3 separate regions of the Homo sapiens genome follow, and regions 2 and 3 are each linked to region 1. The links are contacts of gene promoters, found by promoter capture Hi-C in blood cells and fetal thymus (Javierre and others, 2016). All regions are on one chromosome and are shown on one strand. Each heading gives the region's core, a stretch centred on a gene start or on the middle of the fragment in contact. The rest is flanking DNA. Distances are from core to core; before and after follow the strand shown.

What was found. Contacts are between HindIII fragments. The CHiCAGO score rates a contact against its expected background, and 5 or more counts as called.
Region 2: a contact is called between the fragment with the promoter of ZNF598 here and the fragment with the promoter of BRICD5 in region 1, in 5 of 17 cell types (erythroblasts, M0 macrophages, M1 macrophages and 2 more). The highest score is 11.4, in erythroblasts.
Region 3: a fragment that was not itself captured here is called in contact with the fragment with the promoter of BRICD5 in region 1 in 7 of 17 cell types (erythroblasts, endothelial precursors, fetal thymus and 4 more); the score reaches 6.7 in erythroblasts.

Annotation. Positions count from the first base shown.
Region 1 is chr16:2,208,963-2,212,112 of GRCh38, forward strand. BRICD5 (BRICHOS domain containing 5) reads right to left here and starts at 1,901. Exons shown (of 6, transcript NM_182563.4): 1 at 1,821-1,901; 2 at 1,560-1,688; 3 at 1,164-1,319; 4 at 988-1,089; 5 at 591-744; 6 at 291-494. The coding sequence starts at 1,871. The coding sequence ends at 400. PGP (phosphoglycolate phosphatase) reads right to left here. Exons shown (of 2, transcript NM_001042371.3): 2 at 2,631-3,150. It overlaps MLST8 (MTOR associated protein MLST8), which reads left to right. Exons shown (of 9, transcript NM_022372.6): 9 at 1-491. RefSeq lists a silencer at 1,156-1,346 and an enhancer at 2,786-3,150. The HindIII fragment of the contact is 35,834 bases long and covers 1-3,150 here.
Region 2 is chr16:2,008,428-2,011,624 of GRCh38, forward strand. ZNF598 (zinc finger protein 598, E3 ubiquitin ligase) reads right to left here and starts at 1,394. Exons shown (of 14, transcript NM_178167.5): 1 at 1,311-1,394; 2 at 1,198-1,309; 3 at 1,097-1,196. The coding sequence starts at 1,320. LOC124903626 (a long non-coding RNA gene) reads left to right here and starts at 1,458. Exons shown (of 2, transcript XR_007064941.1): 1 at 1,458-1,675; 2 at 1,881-2,161. RefSeq lists silencers at 693-762, 773-1,202, 1,293-1,512 and enhancers at 1,120-2,068, 1,593-1,752. The HindIII fragment of the contact is 28,758 bases long and covers 1-3,197 here.
Region 3 is chr16:2,456,634-2,459,926 of GRCh38, forward strand. CCNF (cyclin F) reads left to right here. Exons shown (of 17, transcript NM_001761.3): 17 at 1-2,221. The coding sequence ends at 387. LOC105371050 (a long non-coding RNA gene) reads right to left here. Exons shown (of 5, transcript NR_188689.1): 1 at 3,281-3,293; 2 at 3,080-3,203; 3 at 2,177-2,321; 4 at 201-333. Among named protein-coding and RNA genes, the nearest start is that of TEDC2, 1.8 kb to the right of the region's middle. RefSeq lists enhancers at 1,950-2,764, 2,995-3,084. The HindIII fragment of the contact is 2,703 bases long and covers 681-3,293 here.

The DNA of each region.
Region 1 (3,150 bases), core at 651-3,150:
GCCGGCCTGCGCCAGCTGGACCTGATGGCCCCCTGTGGCGCCTTGACCTGCTGGGCCAGGCTGCCCTGGGACTCTCAGCCCCCAGTTGCTTATCCAGATGTGACAGAGCTCGACCCAAGCCAGGCTGCACACTCCTGGACTGGGCTAGCCTGCACTGCCTGGGAAAGTCGGCCGAGGGCCCAAAGCTGCTGAGGGGTCTGAGGCTGGTGCCCACCCCCAAGCTAGTGTGTTCTCTGCCCCTCCCTGCCCGCGTTTCAGGGCCTCGGTCCATAGAGAACACCACCACCATGGCCAGGTGGAAGGGTTTATTAGTCCCTGCCAGCAGCTGTCCTCCCTGGTGCAGGTGGCCTGGCCAGCCCACTGGATTGGGGACGGGCCAGGCTGGGCCAGGTCGGGGGCTCAGTCTGGGAGGTAATAAAAGCAGACCGACACGCAGATGTTGCTCGGGAAGCAGATGTCGATGCAGAGATAAATCAGCCGCTGTCTCCGGGGCCCTGTGGCGAGGGTGCCGTGAATCTCCAAGGGCTCCGCCCCCAGCTCCTCAAACCATCCCGAGGGCCTGGCCTTCCCCCACAGCGGTCCTGACTCACCCTCTGCTCGCCGGGCCCAGTAGATGGGGGTCCTCATGCACAGGCGCTGCACCAAAGCCCCCGCCTGGGCGGGGTCCACTTCGAGGCTCCCCTGCACTGCCAGCAGCTCCTGGGTGTGGTGGGTGTCCTGGCTGGGGACCCAAGCCTCTTGGACCTGTTGAGAAGGCTCTGGTGGGCGGTGGGACAGGGCTGCTCCCTGCTCCTGGCTTGGCAGGGCCGGGTACCCTCCAACCCCCAGTGATGTCCCCACCCTCAGCTCTTGTCAGCAGCCTGGGCTTAGGGCGGAGAGAGCTTCCTGTTCCCTGAAACCACAGCTCCAGCCTGTCCCGTACTGGGCTGCACACAGGACCCTTTGTCTAGCCCCTGGCCCGGGCCTGCGCCCAGCAGGACGGCTCACCTTGGAGGTATCCACCAGCAGCCGCAGGGTCTCCCGATCACTGTCCTCCATCAGGCGGAGGAAGCAGACCTGGTGCTCCTCAGGGCGGTAACAGATGCAGCCCTGGGGAGGCAGGGGGGTGAGGCGGGGCCCCCCAGACCGACACCTGCCAGGGTGACCCCTCCCTGCCCACTCACGCTCTGCCCGTCGAACAGCACCGCCCAGCTGTGGTTGCTCTGAGGTGGGGTCACTGTGATGGTCGCCGCGTTCCGGGCCACGTCCACCAGGATGGTTTGGTTGGGCCGGGGCATGTGGGGGCTCGGGAGGGTCATTCGCAGCGTCTGCAGCCTTGGCTGGCAGTGGGAGTTGGAGTTCAGCCGGGCAGCTGTGCAACCCCAGCACAGCCTCCAGCTCTGGGCTGCAGGACTCCTGACACCCCTGAGTGGGCCCTTCCACCCCTTGGTCCTCTGGCTGTCTGCTCCTAGGTGGTGTCACTGCCTGCTCCGCACCCTTGCTCTGCTGGAGGCTGGGATATGCCAGCTTCCCTTCTCCCTTTCCACTGTCCATGTCCCTGGTGCTGAGGAGGGGCTCACCTTGGGAGGGCCCTGAGCAGAGCCAAGAAGCCCTCCAGCCACAACCCCCACAGCGGCCAGCACCAGCAGCAGCAGCAGCAGGAGCAGGCTCACGGCTCTCCAGCCCCCGCAGGAGGGCTTGGTCTTCACCTGGGCGTGCATCAGGGTCAGAAGGGTCATGAGGGTTAGACATCAGGGAGCAAGTGGGCTGGGGAAGGGAGGGGCTGGGTGGCCTGGGGCACCCCCTGGGTCCTTGCTGCAGGAGTAACGGGAGGCACTCACCCCTGTAGGCCCAGGTTTGGGGCGCTCAGCACAGCAGCTTGCTGGTTCCATCCTGCAGCCCCTGCTCACAATGTGCCGATTGTCTGCGTCCCTTGTCTGCAGCCTTGGCCAGGGGAAACTCAGAACAGAACCCCTCCCCTCCTGACCCTGCGCCTCCCCCTCAGCTCTGGATCTGATATCCAGGTCAGAGCCAGGACAGCCCCTCCTCCCACCTGGGGGATGCCTGTCACCAGGCCCGGCTCCAGACACCTGGCCTGTGCAGACTGGAGCTCAGGGTCTGGGAGGCGTAGGGCTCGGCCGCGTGGAAATCCAGTCCGGCTGACCGACTGGAGGGCAGCCCAGGCCCGGCCAGGGTGACTCGCTAAGTGTGGTTGGGGTGGATTTCGTTTTCCTAAAGTGGCCTGAGTCTGTCAGGTTATCCTTGACTCCCAGAGTTGGGCACAGGGCCTGACACGCCACAAGCTGTCAATACGTGCCTGTTCAGTGAATGACAGGTGTGGGACTGTGCACCCCCAGCCACTTCCCAGCCCCCGCACACCCAAGACCGGGGGTTCCTGAAGCCTGGACCACAGACAGGCAGCCTGCTGGAGCCTGTGCCCCTGGGACAGTCAGGCCAGCCTCGGGGGCCCGCCTAGCCCAACTTTTTTTTTTTTGAGACGGAGTCTCGCTGTGTCCCCCAGGCTGGAGTGCAGTGGCGTGATCTCAGCTCACTGCAACCTCTGCCTCCCGGGTTCACACAATTCTCATGCCTCAGCCTCCCTAGTAGCTGGGATTACAGATACATGCCACCAAGTCCCGCTAATTTTTGTATTTTTAGTAGAGATGGGTTTTCACCATTTTGGCCAGGCTGGTCTTGAACTCCTGATCTCAAGTAATCCACCTGCCTCAGCCTTCCAAAGCGTTGGGATTACGGGTGTGAGCCACTGCGCCCGGGCCAGCATTACTTCTGAGCTCTGCTCCCTGCCCTGGGCGCTCTGACACGGCAGCCCACCAGCTTCACTCCAGGGCCCTTTGCTTCCCTGGCTTCCCTTTGTGCCTGGCTTTCCCTCATTCTTCAAAACATCTTCCTCTGAACCAGGCTGGGAGTGGGCAGTTGGCATTCCAGCTCTGGAGTTGGAACCCCAGTTACCCATCTACTTTGAGTCCTCCCACCCGTGGTGAGACGGCATCACCCGGGCCAATGCAAGGTGAGAGCAAGGACACCTGAGCCAGTGTGGGTTTGAGAGTTTAATCTGTGCTCTGGCGCCCACAGTGCTGCAGCCCCTCATGGGCCAGAGACAGGATGCACGGGGACTCCCAGCCCCTACCCGGCAAGAGAGGCATCACTGAG
Region 2 (3,197 bases), core at 144-2,643, 200 kb before region 1:
CTCCCCGGGGTCTGGGTCGGCCTCCTCCTGTCACATGACAGACTGATAGAATCTCCAAATGTCTTTTTCCAAAAAGGGCACAGACTATAAGCCCACAAATTGCTCAGAGAATTGCAGCATCTCTTCAACTCCTTTGATGTAAACGTCTACTTAAAGAAAGAAAAGGAAAAAAAGAAAGAACCTACACCTCAATACTGCTCTGCATCACTTCTGGGGAGAAGAAAGTTAGATTCCTGGCAGATGTCACCAGCCGAAGCCTTCTATGAACAAACCGGGGGAATTTCACAATGCTGGAAGCAAACAAATCTCTAAGCTCAGCAAACCAACGGGCTCCAGCCAGGTGCCCACAGCCAGCAGCTGGCAGTGCAGTGAGGGTGGAGGAACGCTGCATGGTACCCTCTGACCCCTCCACGGCTTCCAAGTCTGTACAGTCAAAAACGTCTCCCATTCACTGCGGAGATGAGCGCCAAAGGCGGGGGGCGGCGGCGAGGAGGAGGACAACTTCCTAACACTTTTCTCCCTTCCCGCCAAGAAGCGCGAGGGGGCCTTCCCCTCCGACGGGCAGGTCTCCTTCCGAGGCTAGTGTCACCTCCACTCCACAGAGGAAAACGTCAGTCTCGGAAGGAGTTTGCTCAGGGTCATCCAATGGGGGCCCAGAAACACAGCTGGGCTGAGAATGCCCAGAGTTTGACGCCCTGCTTCCAGGACGGATGGCCTCCGCAGAGTCCCCCTTGCCTTGTTTCCTCGAATGGAGGACCCTGGAAAATAAACTCCTGAAGACGAGCAGGTCACCGAGTTCTCCATCTGATCAGGACCCTTCCTGAGGCCCGGCAGGAACCCCCGGGACACGGGGGAAGTCCCCAGGCTGTCCCCACAGGGCTTGCCCCCTCCTGCAACCCGCTCGGCCGCCTCCGGCCTCCAAGCCCCAACGCCCCGCCGTCAGCCGCACGGCCGGGACCCCGCCCTGGGTGGCCCCACCAGGCCTCTCTCGGAAGCCGGCGCCGCCGGGCCCACGGCCGGACCTCAGTGAGGCAAAGTCCCCATCCGGTCGCCGGGAGCCCCGCTGCCCCCGGGCCGCGCCCCCGGCGCCCCGCACCTGGCGCAGCTCCTCGCGGCACACGGCGCAGTAGCGCTGCTCGCAGAGCACCCGCATCTTGGTAGAGCAGCGGTAGCACACCGGGTGGTCGCAGCGGCCCCAGCGCCGTGGCCTCCAGGTCTCCGCAGCACAGCACGCAGCTCCCGCCTCCCCGCTCAGGAGCTGCCGCCGCCTCCGCCTCCATGTCCGCGCGCCGCCCCTCGGCGCCCCCCGGCCGCCGCCATGGTCCGGGATCCGGCCCCCCTCTCGGCCGGTCGTGGCGCCGAGCGGCCTGGCTCCCGGCGGGCCCGCCCCTTCCGGGCAAACGTCACCGCCCCACCCAGCAACGGGCCCGCCCGGCGCAAGTGCGCGTCGCGACTTCCGCCTCAGCGCGGCGCCGGCTAGAGCGGTGGCCCTGATAGAGGCCGCTCTACCATGAGCCGACCGCTCGAAGGTCCGCGCGGCCACGCGGCCAGCCCCGGGCTCCTCTGGGCCACGCGTGTCACGTCAACACTCGCCGGGCTCCACGAACTGGCGTTGTCAGATGAAACACGGCACAACTGGTTTGCATCTCAGATGAACAAGGGGTCATGTCTTAGTGTAAGTATAGCCCAAATATTGATGGGCTAGGCTCATACTAAAATGCTGCTCCTTATCTGAAATTGACATTTAAGTGGACCTGCCGTATTTGTATTTGCTAAATCTGGCCACCTTATTAGGAAACCGGTCTCTGGTATTTGGAACACACACAAGCGTGGTCCCGCCTCCACTTCCCTAATGCCCTGTTTAAATCCCTACATGAAAGACAACGTGAAAGGCAGCACGTGGTGACGTCCATCTCGCAGCCCAGGGCAGTCTCGCCAGGCCTGCCCAGAAGGGGCCTCTGGAAGGCACGAACGGAACCTGTCCTCTTTACGCTGGGCCCAGCACAGGACGTGTTTGGATGGATGCTGCAGTAACAGGGCCTCCTCCCTACCCTTGAGGGCCAGGCACACTCAGGACCTCCCTCCCTCTGCCATCCAGAAGGCAGGTCCAGATCTAAACCCTACTGGAAAAGAGGCAGTAAATTGTATCAATGAGCCTGAACTTTACTTACTTTATTTGAGACCGGGTCTTGCTCTTGCTGTAACACAGTGGTACGATCACAGCACACTGAGGCCTCAACCTCCTGGGCTCAAGTGATCCATGCCCAGTGAACTTGGACTTTAGAAACAGACACAAATGGGCTTGAAACCCCAATTTTGCCACTTGAAAAAAGCTGTCAGGCACAGTGGCTCAAGCCTGTAATCCCAGCAGTTTGGGAGGCTGGGTGGCCCGGATTGCTGGAGCCTGGGAATTTGAGACCAGCCTGGCCTACACAGTCAGGCTCCATCTCCACAAAAAAAATTTTTAGGCCGGGCGTGGTGGCTCACGCCTGTAATCCCAGCACTTTGGGAGGTTGGGATCACCTGAGGTCAGGAATTGGAGACAAGCCTGACCAAAATGGTGAAACCCCATCTCTACTAAAAATACAAAAATTAGCCGGGCGTGGTGACATGTGCCTGTAGTCCCAGCTACTCGGCAGCCTGAGGCAGTAGAATCTCTTGAAACCGTGAGGCAGAGGTTGCAGTGAGCCGAGATCACGACAATCACGCCACTGCACTCCAGCCTTGGCAACAGAGCGAGACTCCATCTCAAAAAAAAAAAAAAAAACACACACGACTAGAGTGCAGTGGCGTGATCTCGGCTCACTGCAAGCTCCGCCTCCCGGGTTCACGCCATTCTCCTGCCTCAGCCTCCTGAGTAGCTGGGACTACAGGCACCCGCCACCACGCCCTGCTAATTTTTTTTTTTTATTTTTAGTAGAGACAGGATTTCACCATGTTCGCCAGGATGGTCTCGATCTCCTGACCTCTTGATCCACCTGCCTTGGCCTCCCAAAGTGCTGGGATTACAGGCATGAGCCACTGTGCCTGGCCAAAACACACAAAAATTAACGGGGCGTGGTGACATGCGCCTGTAGTCACAGCTTCTCGGGAGGCTGAGGCACGAGAAACGCTTGATCCCAGGAGGCAGAGGTTTCAATGAGCAGAGATTGCGCCCCTGCACTCCAACCTGGGCCACAGAGTGAGACTCCATCTCA
Region 3 (3,293 bases), core at 782-3,281, 250 kb after region 1:
TGTCCAGAGGACAAGGGACCCCAGGACCCACAGGCACTGGCGCTGGACACCCAGATCCCTGCAACCCCTGGACCCAAACCCCTGGTCCGCACCAGCCGGGAGCCAGGGAAGGACGTCACGACCTCAGGGTACTCCTCCGTCAGCACCGCAAGTCCCACAAGCTCCGTGGACGGTGGCTTGGGGGCCCTGCCCCAACCTACCTCAGTGCTGTCCCTGGACAGTGACTCGCACACACAGCCCTGCCACCATCAGGCCAGGAAGTCATGTTTACAGTGTCGTCCCCCAAGTCCCCCGGAGAGCAGTGTTCCCCAGCAACAGGTGAAGCGGATAAACCTATGCATACACAGTGAGGAGGAGGACATGAACCTGGGCCTTGTGAGGCTGTAAGTGTGTCAGCACATTTGCCGCAGTGGATGTGTACTGAGGGGGCTGGAGGCGAAGGGTGGGAGCATAGCATAGGAACGCTGCATAGACCATGGAGGCCTTTGCGCAGAGAGCAGAGAGGATGACTTGCGGCCACCAAGTTTCTGTCTCCGCGGGAGTCCCGTGCAAGCCATCAGAATGTTGAAATGAGGGTGAAGAGCTCAGATCCCTCTCTTTGGAAAGTTTAGCCTGGAAGCAGTTGGCCACACTGTGTGGAGGGCACCTCTCTGTCCCTTCCGTGTCTCACTGTCTCTGGAAGCTTCAGCCCATGTGTGTCCTGGTGTTCCCAGCCCCACCAGAGCCCCGTGCCGGGAGCTGACAGCTTTCACGCTTAAGGCACGTGTGACCTGGGTAGTCAGACACCACTTGAGCCCCTGCCCACATCTGCTGGTTTGGGGCTTCAGTGGGGAGCTGACAGCTGTGAGCACACCACTGTCCCCTCATCCACCTCGGCCTGCATGGGGCACCCACTTCCTTCTGGGTGGGGCTTCCATGGTAAGGGGGCCTGCGTCCCTGCACACTGCGAGGACTGCCTTGGCCACAGGCCCACTCCCTACGACACGTGACTCGTTTTAGAGCTCTGTCCCAGAGGCGTTCGTATGTGACCCACAGATGGCGTCAATGTGAACACCTCTCTTTGTGCTGAATTTCTGGGCCATTCTTTTCCTGTCTTATTTCTAAATTTCCTTCTTCCAAGATGAAAACAAAAGAAAAACTTAAAACAGAAGGTATTAAAAAAACAAGAGATTCCCACCATTATTTAGGTTCACCTGCAAAACAAAAATCTTACTCCAGCCCCTCAATGCCATCCTGACACACTTTATGCAAAAAGAATTTTCCCAGATAGGCTAGCCAGAAAAAACTTCAAGTCCTCTGTAACATCTGAGGTGACCAAGAGGCAGAAGAGCAGAGCAGTCGGGGGCCGTGTCCTGGCTGATCCCAACTGCAGCTCTGCTGTGGGGGCCCGTGGGAGGGAGGCAGACCCCTGGGCTTTCCTGCTGGCCACGGAGACTCTGCTCCTGCATGGAAAGGGAGCCTGGGAGCCAGCAGCCCACGCCTGGGGAGCCTGCCTGGGGCCATGTGACCATGGCCTCTCCCTGGGAACGGGCTGACCACAACACACCCTGCTGCCATCCACTTCTGTTTACTCTGCAAATGTAAGAAAGAACCACTTGGCCAGAAGTGTCCCCCAGATGCTTTTTTTTTTTTTTTTTTGGAGACAGTTTTGCTCTTGTCTCCCCGGCTGGAGTGCAGTGGCATGATCTCAACTCTCAACTCACTGTAACCTCCGCCTCCCGGATACTCCTGCCTCAGCCTCCTGGGTAGCTGGGATTACAAGCACCCAACCACGCCCAGCTAATTTTTGTATTTTCGGTAGAGACGGGATTTCACCATGTTGGCCAGGCTAGTCTCGAACTCATGACCTCAAGTGATCCGCCCACTTCGGTCTCCCAAAGTGCTGGGATTACAGGCATGAGCCACGGCGCCTGGCCCCCAAATGCTCTTGAACCGGAAACCCAGGGATGGGAGATGCTCACTGAGCTGCTGCTTTTATGTGTGCTGGTGCTATGTGTGTTCATGTCCGCGGCAGCTGTCTTTTTGCTACTATAAGGGAATTCTGGCCACCCTGGGTGGGGTGTGGTCGGGGTGAGAACCCAAGCGTTGGAACTGTAGACCCGTCCTGTCGACTGTGTGCCCCTGGGCATGTGTGAGCCTCAGTTTCCTCATCTGTAAGGGGGGCAATGATACCTACCTCACAGGGGTGTTGTGAGGATTAAATGTGAGGAGGATAGTGGCAGATGAGTGATGGACGTCCTTCACTGCCTCGGCCCCTTGTCCAGGGGCTCTTAATCCCAACTCTGCATGGAGTCAGTTCTCTGCTTTCTCCCAGCTTGCACCTGAAGGAGGAAACCACTCCAGGGGGACCTGGCCCCGCCTGCCTGTGGTGGGTGGGTTCCTGCATCACCCACCTGCTGACTGAGCATTTCCCTGCCTCCTCCTTCACAGAGAATCTCCAGGGAGGCAGGGCCACCGTCACCCTCCCCCACCGCTGATGGAGGGGCCCACCCGGAGCGCTGGGCCAGAGCTGCCTGGGTCCCAACCTCCCTGACAACTCCCTTTGTGCCCTCCTTCCCCTCTGCGATGGCACCTTCCCATTAACGACTATGGAATGGACTCACCTGTCCCATCTTTAAACAGCAACCCCAGGCTCTGTTTTTCTTTCAGCTACCGCCTGGGATTTCTTGCCCCCTAATTGTTTATTCTTGTTAACACCAACTACATGGGGCCCTGCTGCCTTCCTCACTTCCTCCCTCAGGTGTCCCCCGCATCACCGAAGGCCCTGTACCCCCGCCCCCCTGCTGTGCTGTGTACACCGCCGAGGCCTCAGCAGCACTTGGCCTGTGACCCACTCCCTCCCGTGACAGCCTCCTGTTGCCTCTGTGACACTGTCCTACTGCTCCTCCACCTCCCTGGCCATTGCGTGGGCCCCGTGATCTGTCCCTACCCGTCCCCTGCCCCACCAGGGGCCACCTCGCCTGGCCCACTGCTCCAAGGTCTGAGCTTCCTCCCCTCTGCCCAGTGCTATCACGTCACATGTCCAAAAGTGAACACTTTCTCCTCCTTCATCCCCGCCCCTGACACGCGGAATCCTCACCTCCAGCAACCCCGTCCTGTCCCTGTGCTCGGTGGCCCAGGCGTCAGCAAGACGGCTGGTCCCTGCGTTAAGAGCACTTTCAATAAGGACAGATGGAGCCTCTCGTATAACCTTCACCGGCCCCCTGCAAGAGAAGCGCGATAATGGCGCCCCCATCTACCCAGTTACCCAAACCAAAATCCCGGCGTCGCCCGCAGTCACCTCCCTGGCGGCC